Linked DNA regions of Homo sapiens: region 2 is linked to region 1. The links are contacts of gene promoters, found by promoter capture Hi-C in human tissues and cell types (Jung and others, 2019). All regions are on one chromosome and are shown on one strand. Each heading gives the region's core, a stretch centred on a gene start or on the middle of the fragment in contact. The rest is flanking DNA. Distances are from core to core; before and after follow the strand shown.

Region 1 (5,287 bases), core at 1-2,500:
TCGGCTCATTGCAATCTCTGCTTCCCAGGTTCTGGCGATTCTCCTGCCTCAGCCTGCCAAGTAGCTGGGACTATAGGCATGTGCCACCATGCCCAGCTAATTTTTGTATTTTTAGTAGAGACAGGATTTCGCCATGTTGGCCAGGGTGGTCTCGAACTCCTGGCCTCAGGTCATCCGCCTGCCTTGGCCTCCCAAAGTGCTGGGATTACAGGCGTAAGCCACCACACCCTGCCTAGAGTCTCTCACTTTAAACCAAGCCCCAGGCTCTGTTGCTCATGCTGAGGTGGGCGGACTGCTTGAGCCCAGGAGTTCAAGACCAACCTGCGCAACAGGGCAAAACCCCATCTCTACAAAAATTACAAAAATTAGCCAGGTGCATGGTGATGTGCACCTGTAGTCCCAGCTACTCGGAGACTAAGGTGGGAGGATCACTTGAGCCCAGGAGGCAGAGGTTGCAGTGAACAGAGATCATACCACTGCACGCCAGCCTGGGTGACAGAGCAAGACCCTGTCTCAAAAACCAACCAACCAACCAACCAACCAACAAAACAAACCAAGCCCCATAGAAGCAAGACTCACTTCATGAAAATCCAGTCTGCTTGAGCCATGCATTGAATCAATGGCATTACAGTTGAAACTTATTTTGATGAAACCCATTACAGTTGGACATGCTTTGTGGAAAGATATTATTATGATTGAGTCCTCTTTGTGGAGTGCCATTAGAGTTGCCCTTCGCTTCCTGTAAAGTGACTATAGCTTTGTGTAAACCCAACAGGGCTGCGCACTACTTAAAGCAAACAAGAAAGAGCCTCACTTTAGGCAAGCCTATGGCAGGAAAGCCTCATTTTAGGTCTTAGTACATTATACACAAATCCAATCTGATAAAACCAAGGCATACATTTCTTTCTCAATAGAATGTTGCACCTTACACCAAGATTCTCAGAGCCTCGGGCTGCCTGAGGCCAATCTGGGTACTCTCATAATACCTCACCTGGCCTGGGTTCTGGTCCAGATGTGTCAGCATGGACACAGGGCTGGATGGGGCAGGGGGAGAGGGACTGCCCTCACCTCGCACTGGTGCATGAGCTGGACCAAGGAGTCCCCGATGAAGACGACTTCGGGTTCCTTATCTTTGCTGTCAGCCACGAACCGATGGTGCTGCGGGAGCGCGCGAGAGGGAGTCAATGGCATGCACGCTCCAGGGCCCGCCCCGCCCTGCTCCCTTAGGCAGCGCCTCCTCAACTGCCCTCAGTTTCCCAATCAGGTAGTGAGAGTGGCACGAACCAGCCGTTCTCCTGAGCCACCCCCCGCGCCCCCGGACTCCTCAATATCCCAGGTGGGAACGCTCACCAGGGACATCCAGCGCCCGTCGCCCTGTACGTCCTGCACCGGCGTGGGCTTGCTGGCTGGGTTCTCCTCTCCACTCATCTTGGCGCCGCAGCTCCTGCAGGATGAGCGAGTCGGGTCGGCCCGGGAGTGTTCCGAACGGAGCTGGCTCCGCCACGCCCACTCCTACCCCTCGCGGCAACAAAGGACCGTCCCAACGCTAGCACACCCGCGGAGGACGAAGGCCGATACAGGGCGCCGCCTCCTCTCCAGGGACGGAAGCCTTCACTTAGGAGGTAGGTGGAATCAGGAACCTTCGCTTCCCCCACGACGGCCGCACAGTGGGCTCGCCCGGCGCTTCCCGCTCGGGCCGCTGACTCCCAGGCCGCGCACCCGGCACGGGGTGGGGGGAGGGAGAGGCGAGACCATCCAGCTCCCGAGGCGGGGAGGAGGGAGAAACCACCCACCGGTCACGGGGAGGGGCGAACTACCTGAAGAGTCGAGAGTGGGCGGGGAAAATCTAGCCCTCTGTCTAGCAAATGGGAAGAAACCATTTGCTGTACAGAGTGAAATGTGCGGAAGGGACCACCTACTGTTGCGGGGGGGGGGGTGACCCATTCACGTGGTGGGGGGAGGGGAGCGAGTGGACGAGTCCATTCTTATATTCCCTTGAAGGGGTGGCTCGAATGCACCTGGCTGGGGGGGACGCTCCTATTTTCTACTGATGTGGGGGACAGAAAAGGAAGATGACAAAATGTGAAAATTCGAGGCTCCCTTCTAAGGAGCCACTCTAAGGCCGCGCCAGGGCTTTAGTGAGCCTATCTACTCGTGGGCTTCCCCTACTCAAAACACCGTGGGTGTGTGTGTGTGTGTGTGTGTGTGTGTGTGTGTGTGTGTGTTGAAATCTAAAGTACATATCTTTGCATTCAAGACATCACAGGACCCCTACTCAAAACACCGTGTGTGTGTGCGCGCGCGTGGCATAACATATAAACTACATATCTTTGCATTCAAGACACCATAGGACCTGCTTGGAGGGTAGAAGAAGGTGCAGAAAGAGAAAGGAAATTAGAGACGCCTCCAGGGCTCAGGTCCAGTCTGGCGTCCCTCCGGCAGATCATCTTGCAGATCTGCAGCCTCTACACTCTCTCTAAACCCACAGGCCAACTGGGTATGTCTGAGCTCTGAAACCTACATCCATAGCCAAGGCCACCTAGGGTCGCGCCTCTCCCCCAACGCTGCCCCAAATTAATCTCAGACCTCAGTGTCTTCTCAGATCTCCCTCTTCTCTGGGACCAGGTGGGGGGCTCACTCCCTGCTAAACGTCCTGGTCATGTTCTTGTAGCCTCACTCCAGGTGGGACCTTCCCATGTATTCATTCCTTCGAGGTGGATTGATACTGAGACAGAGATGAGTGTTATTCATTGTGTTTATGTTTTCAATCCACTTTCCTGGAACTGGGCCGGGCACACAGTGGTTATTCCACAAGTGCTTGCTGAATGAGTAGTAAATGAGTGGGTCAGCTCCTGACCTTGTCCCAATGTGTTTAGGGAGACAGATCCAGACACAGAGGTGTAGGGGTGTCAAAGTTGTGTTTGAGGGAGAGACAGGGACCTCTGGGGAGGAAGAGGAGAAGGACTCTGAGGACTATGGGTTTCCTAGGAGTAGTATCTCAGCTGGGTCTGAAAGATAATGAAGAATGGGCAAGCAGAAAGAAAAGACACAGGTAATCACTTTCTTATTAGGTTTGGGGAATATCGTGGAATAGCTTGATTTTAAAGTCTGAGGGAGGCCAGCATGGAGGCTCATGCCTGTAATCCCAGCACTTTGGGAGGCTGACATGGTCGGATCACTTGAGGTCAACCAGCCTGGCCAACATGGCGAAACCACGTGTCTACTAAATATACAAAAAAAAAAAAAAAATTAGCTAGGCATGGCAGCACACGCCCGTAGTCCCAGCTACTTGGGAAGGCTGAGGCAGGACAATTGCTTGAGTCTGGGAGGCAGAGGTTGCAGTGAGCTGAGATCGCGCCACTGCAGCCCAGCCTGGGCAACAGTGGCCCAGCTTGGGTGACACAGCGAGACTCTGTCTTAATTACAAAAATAAACAAACAAATAAAGTCTGAGGGAGCCAGGTGCAGTGATGCATGCCTGTAGTCCCAGCTACTGGGGAGGCTGAGGTGCGAGGATCGCTTGAACCCAGAAGTTTGAGACCAGCCTGGGTAACACAGTGAGACCCTGTCTAAAAAAAAAAAAAAAAAAAGGCTGGGCGCGGTGGCTCACGCCTGTAATCCCAGCACTTTGGGAGGCCGAGGTGGGCAGATCACGAGGTCAGGATCGAGACCATCCTGGCTAACACGGTGAAACCCCGTCTCTACTAAAAATACAAAAAATTAGCGGGGCGTGGTGGCAGGCGCCTGTTGTCCCAGCTACTTGGGAGGCTGAGGCAGGAGAATAGCGTGAACCTGGGAGGCAGAGCTTGCAGTGAGCCGAGATGGCACCAGTGCACTTCAGCCTGGGAGACAGAGCGAGACGCCGTCTCAAAAAAAAAAAAAAAAAAAAAAAGGGCAAGTGCCTGTAGTCCCAGTTAGTTGGGAGGCTGAGGCAGGAGGATAGCTTGAGCCTGGGAGATGAGGTGGCAGTGGCCCATGATGGTGTCACTGCACTCCAGGTTGGGTGACAGAGTGAGTCCCTGTCTCCAAAAAAGAAGTCATAATCAGCTAGGCACGGTGGCTCACTCCTATAATCCCAGCACTTTGGGAGGCTGAGGTGGGCAGATCACTTGGCGTCAGGAGTTCAAGACCAGTCTGACCAACATAGCAAAACCCCATCTCTATTAAAAAATACAAAGATTAGCTGGGCAAGGTGGTCTGCGCCTGTAGTCCCAGCTACCTGGGAGGCTGAGGCAGGAGAATCGCTTGAACCCGGGAGGTGGAGGTTGCAGTGAGTTCAGACTGTGCCACTGCACTCCAGCCTCAGTGACAGATTTAAATTCCATCTCAAAAAGAAAAGGAAAGAAAAGAAAAGAAAAGAAAAAAGTCTTAATTATGCCTTCAAGTCAGTGATATAAGAGAGAATTTTTTTTTTTTTTGATAGAGTCTCGCTCTGTCGCCTAGGCTGGACTGCAATGGCGCGATCTCGGCTCACTGCAACCTCTGCCTCCCAGGTTCAAGCGATTCTCCTGCCTCAGCCTCCTGAGTAGCTGGGACTACAGGCGTGTGCCACCACGCCCGGCTAATTTTTTGTATTTTTAATAGAGAAGAGGTTTCACTGTGTTAGCCAGGATGGTCTCGATCTCCTGACCTCGTGATCTACCTGCCTTGGCCTCCCAAAGTGCTGGGATTACAGGCGTGAGCCACCATACCCAACCGAGAAAAAAATTTTTAAAAATAAAGTCTTAGAGGATAAGTTGGAGCAGTTCCTGAAGCAAAGCTTAGTGAGAAACAAAGCTTCCAGGCATTCTTCATTCACCAGGCCCATTTCAAGTTAGACATATTGGTCTAGTTTATCCTTCTAGCAACCAAATGAGGAAGGTAGTTTTATTACCAACCCAATTTTACAGGTCAGAAAACTAAGTCTGACCAGTTACAAACATTTCCAAGGTCACACAGCCCAGTTGTGCCATTTTGGGCATTTAAACCAAGCCTAGCTATGAATCACAACACTACACTAACTTTTTTTTGAGATGGAGTCTTTCTCTGTCACCCAGGCTGGAATGCAGTGGTGTGATCTCGGCTCACTGCATCCTCCACTTCCCAGGTTCAAGCAATTCTCCTGCCCCAGCCTGCTGAGTCGCTGAATATACAGTCGTGAGCCAATGCATGTGGCCTAATTTTTGTTCTTTTACAGGGTCTTGCCGTCTCCCTCAGGCGGGCGTGATCATGGCTCACTGCTGCCTCCACCTCCTAGGCTTAAGTGATCCTCCTGCATCAGCCTCCCAAGTAGCTGGGCCCACAGGCAA
Region 2 (5,519 bases), core at 2,228-4,727, 150 kb after region 1:
TTTGGTTTTGTTTGACCATTCTTTTTTCTCCACGTTTTCAAATTATCTCGGCCTGTTGACTTGTCACAGAGTTGATTGTGGACTTTGCTACTGCAGTGTTTATAAAGCACTGCAGGGGCCAGGGACTGCTATGACTGAGCCTGTGTCCAAGTTGAAGGCTCAGGGTGGGCCTAAGCTTGTTCTGATGCAAATCACTGATGTGGCTTCTTTCTGGAAAATTCTAAAACCAGGGAGATGACATCCATTTCATAAAGCCTAGAGATATGGGTGCAGTCATCTCTCAAAGTGGCAGGAGTGCAGGGGGACTGAGAGGGACTTGGTTGGGTGGAACTTGAGCTGGAGTTGGGGGAGGATTTGGGTTGGTGGAGGGCAGAGAGGAGGGCCGTGCAGAGCAGGGGCGTGTTGTAGGAGAGGTGCCTCCTGGAGCTCATTGGATGGGGATTTTAGAGGACAGGAGCTGTTCGTGTTCATTTTTGTATTGCTTGAACTTACACAGGGTCTGGCACTTTGGGAGTATTCTATAAATGACTGTTGAATGGAATGATTGTTTTGTAGCCCATTAACTGGGCCTGATGTATTAGAAAGTGTGCGAAAATGTAGCCCATTAGCAGAAAGAAAATCTTACTGAAAAACCATCCCATGTACAAATGGAGCCTGGTGCGGCCACTTTACTTATGCTGCTGAGTTCTGCATCAGTCCACACCCAGGCCACCGCAGGGGCCGGGAGCTCCTCCTCAGACCTACCTCCCGTGCCTCAGTCTCTTTACCCCTCTGTTCTTCCAGGTCCTGCTCCCTCTGGTTTCCCCTCCATGCACTTGGGGTGGGTGTTGCATCCTGTGTCCCATTGGAGGGGGCTTCCGGTCTGTTAGGTCTATTAATATAAAACACCCCCAAGACAAATGGACTTTTTTCTTGTTAACATCACAACTTCTTATGATGCATCTCAAGAACATTATTTGTGTCAAGAGTCTCTCTGATGTACAGAGGCCCTCCATTCCTCAGGAGGAGGTAAGGGGAATTTGGGAGAAAACACCGCCCTGCCTGGGTTACTTATTTCCCTATTCTACAGTGTACTTGGTAGACATTCAAAAATATTTGTTGACTTTGTCCATGATCCACATGGCTCTCATATAGTCATTTATTCACACATACATTCAGTGAGACTTTGAGCGCCTAGTGTGTGCCTGGTATTTACTAGATGGTGGATGCTGAGATCAGGTGTGCTGCTGTCTCTGAGGAGCTCTCACTATACAGTGGCACCTAGGGTGACCGAATCCACCTGCCCCACTTTACAGACATGGAAATTAAAGTGCAGGGAAGTTATAGGATTAGTTCAACAACACAGTCAGTAGCCTCAAAGTTACAGGAGTAAATCAAGTTTTCTGACTTGCTGGATTTTCTATTAGTGTGCAGCTACCTGGCTGCTGCAGGTGTAGACGTGGTGAGCTCCGATAGGAGAGAGGACGTTCAGAGTGAAATGGGAGCCCTGAGCACCCTGGATTAACCGGGAGGACATACCGGGTCCAGCTGTGACCGCACAAAGGACCATCAGGGATATTTGTATTCTCTTTTTCACTTTGAGCTTGAAATGAAGAAAACTGACCCCAGGAAACCAAGAGTGGAAGATTTTTCACAGGGGATTAGTGAGATGCGTCAAAAAGCCTGTGTTGGATGGGTGCCTGTAATCCCAGCACTTTGGGAAGCTGAGGTGGGAGGATGGCTTGGGTCCAGGAGTTTGAGACCAGTGTGGGCAACATGGTGAGACCCTGTCTCTATAAAAAGCTTTTTTGTTTCTTGTTTTAAAAAGAAAACCCTTTTCTGATGTCTGTCACGGTGTTTCTCACTGAATGGTAATGGTCTGACTTTGAGTGGGTTTCATCCATAGCCTGGAGCTCTGTGAGGCAGGGACCAGGTGTGATTCACCTTTGTCTCTCCAGTGACAGTACACAGCAGGATCCGATAAATATTTCTTACAAAATAAAACTGAATAAAAAGTAGACATCTGCACAGGTGTGGGATGACTAAGCAGCAGCAGGAGCAGGAAAAATCAGTCCCCCCAGATCAGCTGATACAGCGTTCAGCTTCTAGATAGGGGTGAGGTGCCAGGACGGGGATGGGGTTCCTGTGGCTCTGCTGCTCTGGGGAACACCCCTAGGATTCAGAGTGTAGGCTGTGGTTGCTGCACTTCACTTGCCCGTGGGAAAGTGAGCAGTGGGTGTGGGGCTTCAGGTGACCCTACGTGGGAAACGGCCGAGGGAAGATGGGGTAGGTGGCACATAGAGGTTGTTTTTTTATTTTTTTATTTTTATTTTTGAGACGAAGTTTTGTTCTTATTGCCCAGGCTGGAGTGCAATGGTACAATCTTGGCTCACCGCAACCTCTGCTTCCCAGGTTCAAGCAATTCTCCTTGCCTCAGCCTCCCAAGTAGCTATGATTACAGGCATGCGCCACCATGCCTGGCTATTTTTTTTTGTATTTTTAGTAGAGACAGGATTTCTCCATGTTGGTCAGGCTGATCTCGATCTCCTGACCTCAGGTGATCCACCCACCTTGGCCTCCCAAAGTGCTGGGATTACAGGCATGAGCCACTGTGCCCGGCCAAGGATGTTTACCAATATTTGAAGGTCGGTTGTATAAAAAAGTGTTAGACTTGGCTGGGTGCATTGGCTCATGCCTGTAATCTCAACACTTTGGGAGGCTGAGGCAGGCAGATCACCTGAGGTCGGGAGTTTGAGACCAACCTGGCCAACATGGCAAAACCCTGTCTCTACTAAAAATACAAAAATTAGCCGGGCGCAGTGGCGGGCACCTGTAATCGCAGCTATTCAGGAGGCTGAGGCAGGAAAATTGCTTGAACCCAGGAGGGGGAGGTTGCAGTGAGCCAAGATTGTGCCACTGCACTCCATCCTGGGTGACAGAGCCAGACTCCATCTCAAAAAAAAAAAAAAAAAAAAGGAAAAGAAAAAATGTTAGTGTCACATGCATCCATGTGAAGAGACCACCAAACAGGCTTTGTGTGAGCAATAAAGCTTTTAATCACCTGGTGCAGGCAGGCTGAGTCCAAAAAGAGAGTCAGTGAAGGGAGTTAGGGATGGGGCAGTTTTATAGGACTAGGGTAAGCAGTGGAAAGTTACAGTTAAAGGGGGTTTTTCTCTTGCGGGCATGGTGGGGAGATCATAAGACTCATTGTCCAGAAGAAGAATGTCACGAGGTTGATCAGTAGATCAATTGGGACAGGGCAGGATCAAGTCATGACAGAATGTCATAAGGTTGGTCAATCGGTTAAGATAGGAGTTGGCTGTTTCCCTTCTTTTGTACTTGTCGGTTGCCTCAGGCCATCTGGATGTATACATGCAGGCTTGGGTTCAGAGGCCTGACATTCCTGTCTTCTTATATTAATAAGAAAAATAAAACAAAATAGTGTTGAAGTGTTGGGGTGGCGAAAAAATTGTTTTTGGGGTGGTATGGAGAGATAATGGGCCATGTTTCTCAGGGCTGCTTCGAGCAGGATTAAGGGCTGTGTGGACCTTAAAGAAAATTTTATAATAGGTTACATGGAATAGGAGTTTAGGCTGTGGGGAGATCTTGGGGCAGAGGATGGTACTATGGGGTTGTTAAAAGTAGCATTTGTCATATAGAATGATTAGTGATGGTCTGAATGTGGTTTTGTGTGAATTGAGAAACCAAACGGAAGACACAAGGCCCGAATAAGAGGAGAAAAAGAGGTACCAGAGGACTAAGAATTGGGAGGACCCAGGATGTCCAATTAGAGAGTGCCCAAGGGGGTTCAGCATAATTACTTGCTTGTTGGCGAGTTTTTGGGCTATATCCTTGAGTTTTTTTTTATATTGTCATATACTAGGCCAGATTGATTTAGGTAAAAGCAACACTCTTCATTTAAAAATATAGAGAGTCCTCCTTTTTCAGCAGTGAGTAAGTCAAGGCCTCGGCGGTTTTAGAGGACAACTGCAGCTAAAGAGTCAACCTTGGCCTGAAGGACTCATAGAGTTTGTGATATGTCTGTGATGCTAGCAGAGAAGTCATTAGAGAGGCTCTGGAAGGTCGTGACAGAGGCTGAAATGCCTGCTATTCCAGTTCTGAGCGCAATAGCGGAGGCAGAAAGTCCTAAACCGACAAGTAAGGGAATTAGTGGAATAACCTTTTTTTTTGTCATGTCGGTGTCATGAGAGGAACAGGAAGCTTTTCAGTCCCATTCGCAAATTGAATTTTGGGAGTAAGGTAAACTAGTGTGCATGTGCCTGTCCAATTAGCAGGTAGACACATGTAGGCAGAGGATCCACAGAGGAAGAAGAGACCTTGTGCAAGGCAAAACTGGAAATGCAAAGTAAAAAGATGAGAAGGAATACTAAAAGAGGTGTCTTGCACTCAGACTCCTAGGGATCCAGCTAGGGCGGCAGCCATCAGAGGTTGTAATGGGGACTGATGGGGTAACTGCATAGAGGGGGAGGTTCGATTTTCATGGTGTATGAGAAAACGTTGAGTGTCTACGAGCAACCTTTCACTGTTATTTACAGGGCTGGGTATAAGCAAACAAAAAGAGGGCCTGGGAGGAGAGTCTGACGAGCAAGGGGAAGGTAGTCAAGGATGGAGTGAAATACAGGGTAAGTGTCTTCCTAGGAAATAATAACTGCTAATGTTTTTAAGTTTGCCAGTATTGATAGAGGGCTTTTCTGTAATATGGAGCTGGGAGGCCCCAATTGTTTCAGTGATATGTGTAGTTGGGCTTTGGAGATGAAGAGTGAAGGAACACGGAGAAGGTGAAAGGTTACCTAGGGGAATTCCAGTGGGTCTTTGCCAAGAGATACATAAAGGAGTGGCCACAGGAATAGTAGTTTGTGTTGTGAGGGGTCCAAATATGGGGGGAGTAGAATTAATATAAGGAGAAAGATTTTTTAAGTAAGTGCGGAGAAGGGCGGCAGCTTGCTGATGTGAAATGTCTGGGGAGGTCTTGCTGGACCTGTCTAGAAAGTAAAGAATTTCTTTAGGAGGGTTAAGGTGAGGGCTGTTAAAGGAAGTTCGGAGGTGTAGGGAGACAGGAGATGTTGCTTAGTCTGTATGTAAGGCGGGGACAGCTGTGTAGGCACAGGAAGAAAGGGAAATGCAAAGCCAGCAATTGTTCTCTAAGGAGGGATCAGAGACGGCTAGGAGAGAGTGAATGAGACTGATAGTGTGGTGGAGATAGCTGGGGAGAGGTAGAGGGTGGCATAAGAATGGGAATGAGAATAAGAGTGAGTATAAAAGTAAAGAATAGAACTTCATCAGGGTGGAAGTATTGGAGGGTGCCCTGCCAGCAAAGATCATCTATCCACTCTAAGAGGGAGTTAAGAGTGGCAGTTTGGGGATAGCACCAGGAGATATCCACTGTGATGGTTTGGAGGAACAGTGTAAACTGGCAGTGTAAACAAGAGCAGGGCATTTATGAGTAGTTGAGAACGGTGAATAAGAGTATGACTAGACAGAAGATAGTAGGGATGACAAGTTTTTTGGGGTGCAGTCCA

Evidence for each region. Contacts are between HindIII fragments. The study calls those that stand out against the background at their distance.
Region 2: a fragment that was not itself captured here is called in contact with the fragment with the promoter of PRR19 in region 1 in 1 of the 25 tissues and cell types used here (pancreas).

The regions. Positions count from the first base shown.
Region 1 is chr19:42,300,882-42,306,168 of GRCh38, forward strand. It overlaps PRR19 (proline rich 19), which reads left to right and starts at 1,251. Exons shown (of 3, transcript NM_199285.3): 1 at 1,251-1,622. PAFAH1B3 (platelet activating factor acetylhydrolase 1b catalytic subunit 3) reads right to left here and starts at 1,743. Exons shown (of 5, transcript NM_002573.4): 1 at 1,351-1,743; 2 at 1,069-1,158. The coding sequence starts at 1,428. RefSeq lists enhancers at 1,218-1,267, 1,348-1,477, 1,430-2,084 and a silencer at 1,638-1,857. The HindIII fragment of the contact is 37,239 bases long and covers 1-5,287 here.
Region 2 is chr19:42,443,983-42,449,501 of GRCh38, forward strand. All of the region lies in intron 1 of LIPE-AS1 (LIPE antisense RNA 1), which reads left to right. Among named protein-coding and RNA genes, the nearest start is that of CXCL17, 3.8 kb to the left of the region's middle. The HindIII fragment of the contact is 4,999 bases long and covers 979-5,519 here.